Linked DNA regions of Homo sapiens: region 1 is linked to region 2. Evidence: promoter capture Hi-C in human tissues and cell types (Jung and others, 2019). All regions are on one chromosome and are shown on one strand. Each heading gives the region's core, a stretch centred on a gene start or on the middle of the fragment in contact. The rest is flanking DNA. Distances are from core to core; before and after follow the strand shown.

Region 1 (4,877 bases), core at 2,329-4,828, 140 kb after region 2:
CAGTGCCAATGGCAAGAGATGAAGCAGGTGAGGCCCAAGAAGGGACATGTGTTCTAGGGACCCAGAGGCTTCTCCCTGTCCCCCAGCCTTTCCTTCTGTCTGTCCCCCAGCCCTTGCCCACCCCTCTACGCTCCCTCCCCCGGTCTTTCCCCTATAGTACTCTTTCTCTCGATCTCCTCCTCGTCTCTCAGACCAGAAGGCTCAACATCTTTCTAAGGGAAACTTCGTGCTACTCCCACCCCACTGGGGTCCTGGTTGCCCTCCCTAGCTTCTGAAATCACCCCCCACACCCCCAACAACCACCACATACACCTTTCACCAGAGACTCACCCAGCGCTTCCAGAAGCTGGGGCAAAGAGGAGCACACACGACCACCTGCCTACTGAGCAGCTCACACTTCCTCCAATGGAGCCACCACAAGGTACCGGCCTCCAGGGCAACTGCAGGCAATCCTGGCCCTCAGGGCCTTATGGCATAAAAGGGAGAGAAGCCATGACCCCAGCAGGCCTATGCAGACACAGTGAGAGAAGAGGCCCAGAGAAAAAGCTATGGACGTTTAGATCCAGTGGAGGGATCTGAGTGGGCTTCCTGGAGGTGACTCTGCGTAGGGCCTTGAAGGACTGGCAGGATTTAGTCATGTGGCAATGGGAGCAAAGGCAGTTGCAGGAAGAGGGAGTGCGGTGAGGAAAGGGGTGGAGGTGGGAACTGGGGCTGACACCAGGGCAGCCAGTGCTCATAGTGGCTGGTGGCTGAAGAGTGTGGCCAGAGGGGTGGGAGGCGGCAAGGTGGAGGGCCACATCACACAGGCTGGAATGCGGAAGGACTTTAGAGTTTATCCACTGCTGCCTCTTGACGTGGGGCTTTCAGATCTGGTGCTGTTTCCCAGTTCATTCATTCATTCATTCATTCAGGAAATATTGCTTGCTTGGTGCTAGACAAGTGCCGAAGATGCTGTGAGAGGCAGATAGAAGTCCCTGCTGTCACGGATCTTAAGTTCCAGGAAGAGACACAGATATAGAGTCGTGAACAAGTAAAGACTAAAAATTAAAATCATGATGGGGGATGCCATCATGACTGGCCACTCTGAAGGCCGGGCTTGTGTCCTGTCTCCCCTCAGACTGAGGGCTCCCTGAGGGCAGAGCCTGTGCCTGCTCCATCAGACAAAGGTAGAACCAGCTTCTCCATCAGGCTAGAAGCACCCTGAGACTCAGGGAGAGGCATGGAGCATCTGGGAACAAGAGCTGAGGTGTCCTAGAAACCTCCCAGGAACAGACCCAGGGATAGAAGTTGGCAGGCAACTGGCAAAGGACCCTCTTCCCAGCCAGGCCAAATGTGGGAGGGCTTCCCTCTCCTCCTCCCCATCCAGCCCCCGACCCCATTAAACCTTTAAATTAACTTCAGCTCCACCCCGAGCTATAGAGAGTGCCCCAAAATAAATCCTAAATTACATGCTGCTTGGGGGCAACCACAGTTCTCCTTCCTCCCTCTCCAGCAAGCAGACCCGCCCGACACCGTGCTGAGGGGGCTCCCCCAAAATGGGCTATTTATACAGCTCCTGCTCCCCTGTTTGCTCTCTGGCCCTGTTGTCCTTGAGTGAGGCCCAAGCAGGCTATACAGCTGTCTTGGGAGGGTGAAGGGAGTGGGAGAGGCTGTGAGCCTTGCCAGGGTCTGACTGGCCATGGGGGATGTAATTTTTAGTCCAAACTAGGATACTTTGGAGTGCTCGTAGCAGTTACACCCAGGCAATGACATAGGTCTGAACTGTCCTGGGCACACGGGGTATCTGGTCACCCAGCGATGGGGCTCAGACTCCAGCCTCTCAGCCACCCAGAGCATTGCCTTCTTGGGGATGAGAGAGACAGAGAGAGAGAGAGAGAAGAGAGAGAGAGATTGCCTTCATCCCCGTTGCTGAGACAAGCAGTTCTGAATATGGGGGCACTGGGGCTCCCATACCACCTGGCAAAGCAGAATGGGCTCTGGCTTCAAGGACTCCCAGGCACAGAGAGGTCCTGCAGGAGGGTCTGGGCAAAGAAGTGGGGAGCCGGATGTGGCTGTTTTGAGACCACAGGCTTGGGTCAGGGGCCTCCCTCTCCCTGGACAAAGCCACCTTCCATTCTGGGAAGCTGGCCCCAGATACTGGAGCTGCTCCCCTTAGGGAAAAGAGAGAGGGGGAGGGAGAGGAGAAAAGGGAGAAGAGAGTGGAAGATAGAGAAAGACAGGCACACACAAAGAAGCGGCAGAGTGAAGGACAGAGACAGAAACAGAGGTGGGCAATGACAGAGGGAGGGAGAGTGGGGAAGGGGTGCTTCCAGAGCCCCAGGATGGCAGCACCCCCTTCCTACCCACAGGGCCCGCTGTGGTAGCCCTGTGGGCTCCGCACCGCACCGCTCTCTCTGTTCTCCACCCCACCGCAGTGAAGTGGGGGCAGGGCCTCTGCTGGCTGCCCAGGAGGACACCCGCCGCTCCTCCACTGCCTCCCTCCTCAAGACTAGCAGTGGGTGGCTGGGCCCAGATGCCTGCTCCCCGGCTGCTGGCGGGCTCAGGTGTCTGCAGAGCGTCCTCCTGCTCCCTGCCATCCTTGCACGCCCCTCTATTTCAGGCAGCCTGGCCCCTGCTCAGTGCCCTCTCTGGAAGCCTGCTCCTTGGCCAGCAGACCTGGCTCCCCCAGGTCCAGCCTCTACCTGCCCGCTCCTCCCGTCCCCTTGAGGGGGCTTTGCTTCAAAGGGGTGGAGCTAGGGCTCCTCCTCCCTGTGAGGTTGCGCTGGGGGTAGGAGCCTGGAGGGGAGTCAGAGGCAGGGCTGAGGAACCAGAGGCTCCTCTCACTCTGAGTCAGTCACAGGGAGGGGAGGGTGGAGGGGGCGGCAAGGAGGTGGACCGAGAAAGAGCCGGCCACAGAGATGTCCAGGGAATGGGGCAGGGCTGGGTGGCAGCATCACAGTGTCTGGAGGGCCAGGTACACATCCAAGTGCACACCGTCATGCAGCGATTTAGAGACGGGCCCCAACCTCTGCAGGCTTCAGCCTTGGATTGTGAACAGAGGGGACACACAGCACAGGACCAGCTGACCAGATCCCAGCCACCGCTTGTTTGCACTCACAAGTAAATTGATGCCGACAACCTGGAGCGGAGGGCTGGTGGTGTGTGAGTGTGAGTATGTGTGTGTGTGTTGGGAGAATAACAGAGGATTCAACCAGTGTCACCCAAAAGGGGCAAGGACCCCGCAGCACTGGGAAAGGGTCACAAAAGCCTTCCTCGCCTTAGAGGAGTCAACATGCTGTCTTCCCAATCCAACTTGATTATCTGTCTGCTCAGCAGCCCCCATGATCCCCACCTCCCAAGAAAACACTGTTTATGGGGCCTGGGGCATCAGGCCTGTCATTTAGCTGGAGGAGGCAACCCAAGCCACAACTGGGAGCTGAGCCCTGTGTGGAGAGGCAATGCCCAGCCTGAGGCAGGCACCAGCCCAGACACTTAGTGCCCTGTTTACCCTGGCAAGGGTGGCTGGCACAGGTGGGCCTCTCCAGGGAGCAGCTGGTGGCCCTGCCAGCAGACTCCCCTGCAGGCCAGAGAGGAGGCCAGGACAGCAGCTCTCCAGGATGGGGAGGGAGGCACCTTGCCCGCCGCACACCCTGCACTGCAGTTTGCAGGGTGCCAGCCTCTGAAGCTCAGGGGTCTCCCAGCTGCCCTGCAAGGGAGACCATATGGCCCAGGGCCCAGCAGGAGAAACCACAGCTCCAGGATGCTGGACACTGGTCCCCAAGGCCCCCCAGGGGAGGCTGAAGGAAGCCCCAGGTCTTTGGGGTCCTGGTCTGATAGGCCCAGATGCCACTCAACTCCCCAGGTTTGTGGGACCCACCTTCTGCATCCAAAGGCACATGTAACTTGGCATAAACAAACACCCTTTCCCCATCACAGCCCATCACTACACAGTCGCTGTACCCACAGTCCTTCTCTATCACACAGATGGTATAGAACATGCTCCTGCACTCTGCCACACCCAACATACACATCATCCAGCACCCAGCTCACAAACGCAGCATACACACACCAGACACACAATGCTCACCCAACACAGCTCCTTCTCCACCCGCATAACCTCCACTCCAGCAGCAAGGTCACATTTGCTTGCATGCGTGCACACACGCACACGTGCGCACACACACACACAGTCCTCTGAACCAATACACTCTCCTCCCAGTGCCACACTTGAAAGTGGGCCCAAGTAGGGGCCACCATTTTAGTCCTGGGCTTCTCCCTGCCCCTCCCACTCTCCGTCCTCCCTGCCACTCTCGGTCCTCCTCCCACTTCCTCTGCCCGCCTTCCACTTTCTCCCTTTCTCTCTCTCCTAGCTGAGCCCCTGGCCCTGAGGTCTCTTTCCCAGCACATGGTGGGACACTTGAGGGCCACACATATGGGCAGCTCCCAGCAGCTATTAAATACCACTTCGCCCACCTCTGGGGTTTTGAGGGGCTGCAAATTCCGGAGGACAGGAGGCAGCAGCTGGCAGCTGCTCAGGGCCTCAGATCCCCCTGCTCACCATTCCCCCATGCACCGCCCACCCCTCCTCATTCCGGGCTGAGTCATCCCCACATCTGGAACCTCTGCACATCTGGAAGAGCTGAAGCCTGTGCAAGCAGCTCCACGTAGACACCCCCTCCCCCCTGCTCCATCTCATCCCCATCCCTGCTGGCAGTTGGGGTCCAGCATCCCCCACCTGGAGCAGGACCTCGGTTACCTAGCAGCAGGCACTGCTGGGCCAGCCTTGGGGACCAGGATTGCCCACAGGTCTCTCCCCAGTAGCAGTAACAGTGGCGTCTTGGTGCCCACCGCAGTAAGCAGGCAGGGCAGTGCTAGCCTTGGAGGAGGCCAGGCCCAAG
Region 2 (4,605 bases), core at 2,074-4,573:
CGCCTGTAATCCCAGCACTTTGGGAGGCCGAGGCGGGCAGATCACCTGAGGTCAGGAGTTTGAGACCAACCTGGCCAACATGGTGAAACCCCGTCTCTACTAAAAACACAAAAATTAGTTGGGTGTGGTGGTGCACACCTGTAATCCCAGCTACTCAGGAGGCTGAGGCAGGAGAATCACTTGAACCTGAGAGGTGGAGGTTGCAGTGAGCCGACATCATGCCATTGCACTCCAGCCTGGGTGACAAGAGGGAGACTCCATCTCAAAAAAAAAAAAATTAAGTAAATAAGTAAATAAATAAATAAAAGCAATAATAATAATAATAATAAAAGAGGCAGAACTCAGCCTTGAGCCAGGGCTCCTGCCCCTCTGCGCTATCCTAGGTGATGATCTTCAGTTTAGGGGTGGAGGAAGAGATAAGCATAGAGGGAGGGAAGCTGCTCCACACTGACCAGGACTGGGAGAAGCATCAAAACCACCTCTAGGCTGGGCGCAGTGCCTCACGCCTGTAATCCCAGCACTTTGGGAGGCCGAGGCGGGCAGATCACCTGAGGTCGGGAGTTTGAGACCAGCCTGACCAACATGGAAAAAACTGTCTCTACTAAAAATACAAAATTAGCCGGGTGTGGTGGCACATTCCTGTAATCCCAGCTACTCGGGAGACAGAGGCAGGAGAATCGCTTGAAGCTGGGAGCCGGAGGTTGCAGTGAGCCGAGATCGTGCCATTGCACTCCAGCCTGGGCAACAAGCGCAAAACTCTGTCTCAAAAAAAAAAACAAAAAACAAAACCACCTCCAGATTCCATAAATGCCTGGGGCTGAAAGCAGAAAATGAGGTGTGGGAAGGGGTCATCAGGGAAGCAGACTCTCCGAGAACCCTCCTGCCATTCTTGAACTCCAGGGGCTACTAGCAAAGATCTAGAACATTTCTTCCTGTCCTGACAGGCCAGATGGGAAGGAAGGCTGACCCTAAGAATTAACCACATTTCCTGATTCAACCACAAAGCCTTATCTGGCTAGGACCCAGCTGCCACCTCCTTCAGGAAGCTGTCCTAGGTAGCCCTCCCTCCTCTCATTTGTCTTCGTAATTTCTAAATCCACCCTTCTCCAACTACTGGGAAATGGGGAATTCTTCATACTTCACTGATTCCTTAAATAGGTCTCATCTCCCCCCCACCAATCAGATGGGAGCCCAGAGAAGAAAGGGTCCACGTATTCTTCCGTCAGACTAGGGACTGTGAAGACAGGAACTGCCTCTCCCATCAGAATGGAGGCTCTCTGAGGGCAGTAGTGTTGTCTCCTTTCTGCCTCTGAGAATGAAGATCCTGTGTTCTTTATTCAAGAGCCCATTCCAGGGTCGAGATCCTCTGCTGGCTGGAGTCCTCCTCTTCCAGGCACCCTCTGGGCTGGATTGGGGTTTCCTGCTCAAAGCCATTCTCGGTCCATCCTGATTCAGCACAAACTGCTCTCTTTTCTTCCCTTCAACAACTAACTTTCTGGGGTGTGTAGGGGGACCCTCCCTACATTGTGTCCAGGGGGTCACCAGACCCCTCCCACCCAACCCTCTCCTTCCAAAACTGAGCCTAGAAAAATTAGACACCAAACCCGCCCCCACTCTCACTCCCACACACACCCCGCACACTCTCTCACACACACACACACACACACACACACACACCCCCATTCAGCCAGGTAACTGCACAAGGGTGGGATTGAACCGGTTCCTCTGGATACCCTTCCCCCCAAGGCTTCCAATCCTGGAGAAGGAGCACCAATGACCTTTGACCCTTCTCTGGGAGAAAGGGAGGCAGGTGAGCTCACAGCCTCTTGGGACCCAGGAGAAGGAGAAAGGAAGAAAGGGCGCACAATTCCTGGGGAGGGAGCGGGAGCGGGAGCGGAAGGAAGTGAGGAGTAGGAAGAAGCAGAGACAGACACACAAACTGGCGGAGAGTCCACAGGGCTGCTGAGAAGAAAGAGATCACACCGAGAGTGGGGCCACGGGAACTGGCACTGGGAACAAGGGCTTCCGCCGCTCTAAGTGACGCCCGAGGGTGGGAGAGAAGGGAGAAGCCCTTCGGGCAGGCGATAGGAAAGGGCCCCTGAAGAGGAGAAAGCGACAGAGAGAAGTGCAACTGGGAGAGGCCGGGAAGAGGTGGATGGGAAAGGAGACTAGCGGTCGGGGAGGCAGTTGTGGAGCCAGAGAGGTGGTCCCCCCTTCCCATATCGCCGGCCGTCCACTGGCCCCAGGCTTGGGGTAGTCCTCAGGAGTCGGGCACCCCCTCAAAGCACTGTTGGAGATGGGGTGAGGTTGGGGACAGGGCACCTACTCCACTCTCAGAGCCCTTCTCCCCAGTCAGAGCCCGGTGGCTAGTTTCTCTCCAAACCATCAGCACAACTCCCCGCCGGGCAAGAAAGAGTTAAGCCCTCTCCCCCTCCCCCCACACCAGCTTTTTATTAATTTCTCCGGGCGTCGGGCGGGAGGGAGGGGATTAGGGCCATAAATCCTATCTCCGCCCCCTCCCCTGACAGCCCGGCACCCCAGCCCCGTGCGGTCCCCCTAGGGATAGGGGAAGAAAGGCCCTTGTCGCTTAGCCCTGCCCAACCCCACTCAGGGTCCCACCGCGGGCCCGAGTGGCCCTAGCCCCAGTTCCCGGTCCACCCCAGGGCGCCCGGCCCCTCACCTCCGGCATCGGTCATCTTCAGCGTCTGGCGCCCCGGGAACCCCTCAGGCCCATGGTGCTCGAGGCGGGGGCCGGGCAGGAGAGGGGTGGGGGGACCGTCACCCCGGCCGCGGGGGGCTCCGGGCGGGCTCGAGCCGCTCCATCCCGGGGGTGGGGGTGAGGTCGGCGGGAAGGGTCCCAGAGCCGGGGGAGATGGAGGGCGGGGGATGTGGGGAGAGGGAACAGGTTCGCTGGAAGCAGGAGGCGCGGGCGGGGCTGGACCAGGAGACCTGACGGGAGGATGCTCCGTGTGTGTGTGCGTGTGCGTGTGCGTGTGTGTGTGTGTGACAGAGAGAGAGAGAGAGAGAAGAGCGAAGAGCGAGCGCCACCTCCCTCCCCGCCCCTGCCGCCCGCCAGGCCTGGCCGGACGCGGGGCCCCCGCCTGGCAGGGCCGATTCGCGCGGCGTCGCGTCGGCAGGGGTCCGCGGGGGTCTCCGGGGAAGGGGCGTCGGGGTGGGGGGCGCGTGGCGGAGAAGCCGGGCGCCCAGGAGACAAAGAGCGGGAGGGAGCGAGGGGGCGGGGGCGGGGGAGGGCGGCGGGGAGGAGGCGGCTGGGGCCGGGGAGCGGAGTTGCAGCTACTTCTCTGCCCGCGGGAGACGCGGCGCACCGGAGTCTGCGCGGGTGGGAGCGGCTCCGGGGCGGTCCCGCCACGGGACCCACGGGGCTTCCGCCTCCTCTGCCGGGTCCATCAGGGCTCCCGATTAGTTCATTCATTCAACAAACGTCCGCCGAGCAGCCGGGGCGCCGAGGCTGGAGGGGACAGCGGTGAACAGAACCCCCGCCCCCTAACTGCGCTCAAGGCCAGTGGGCCAGTCGGGGGCTCAGACGAGTGGGGAGGCCCTCACGAGCCTGGGCGCCATGGGCCCAGCTAACAGAGGGCACTTCTTGCCGGAAGGGAGAGCGCACCCCTGGCCCGGCCTGGGTCCAGGCGGCCGCGGCGGGAGCTGGGCTGGGGGATTCCCAGAGGATGTGATGTGTTGGCTACAACTGCGGGCCAGGGTAGGGAAGTGCCAGGGGGTGTTGGGGGTGGGAGGGCAAGAGGGGAAGATAAATTGAAGCTGGGGAGGTGCAGGGGGCTTGCACTTTATTCTACCAGCCGCCCACCCCGCCGCCCACACACACACACACACACACACACACACGCGCGCGCGCGCACACACACAAAATTAAGAGGAGGGAGGGGCTCAGGTGTGCATTTAGGAAGCACCCTTGGCTCCCCTGGAGACAGGGTTACAGAGGGCACTCTGAAGGCAGGGAGACCCGCTGGAGGCTATTGAGGGCCGGTGGCAGTGGGCATAAAGATTACAGATTAAGCTGAGAGCCCTTCAGGATGCAGGCCTGAAGAAGCTGACACCGAAGAAGCTGACAGGATTTGGGGACCTGCTGGACTAGGAGGTGAGGGAGGAGGGGTCTAGGATGGCTGTGGACCTTGGCTTGAGGCAGGAAGCCCTGGAGCAGGTGGGGGTGGGGACGGATGAGATCAGACTTGGACCCAGTGCGCTGATGGTAGTGGCAGGCCAGCCAGGGAGGCAATGTAGGGATCCACAACCAGCTACCGCACGTCACAGCTTGGCAGGTGCCAGGCGCTCTCAGATCATCTATTGTCACCCTCACAATAAACCCACAAGGTGGGTGTTTCCATTACCCACTGCCTCAGAGAAAACAGAGACTTAGAAGAAGGAAAGTGCTTTGCTCAAGAGCAAGTGGTGAAAGGCCAGGCGCAGTGGCTCACGACTGTAATCCCAGCACTTTGGGAGGCCAAGGTGGGTGGATTACATGAGGTCAGGAGTTCGAGACCAGCCTGGCCAACATGGTGAAACCCTTGTCTCTACTAAAAATACAAAAATTAGTCAGGCATGGTGGCGCTACTCTGGAGGCTGAGGCAT

Evidence for each region. Contacts are between HindIII fragments. The study calls those that stand out against the background at their distance.
Region 1: a fragment that was not itself captured here is called in contact with the fragment with the promoter of SAMD14 in region 2 in 1 of the 25 tissues and cell types used here (bladder).

The regions. Positions count from the first base shown.
Region 1 is chr17:50,261,891-50,266,767 of GRCh38, forward strand. LOC105371822 (a long non-coding RNA gene) reads left to right here. Exons shown (of 6, transcript XR_007065844.1): 4 at 1-27; 5 at 323-421; 6 at 912-999. Among named protein-coding and RNA genes, the nearest start is that of TMEM92, 10 kb to the right of the region's middle. The HindIII fragment of the contact is 6,379 bases long and covers 390-4,877 here.
Region 2 is chr17:50,126,837-50,131,441 of GRCh38, forward strand. SAMD14 (sterile alpha motif domain containing 14) reads right to left here and starts at 3,324. Exons shown (of 10, transcript NM_001257359.2): 1 at 2,681-3,324. RefSeq lists silencers at 3,040-3,099, 3,340-3,419. The HindIII fragment of the contact is 12,261 bases long and covers 1-4,605 here.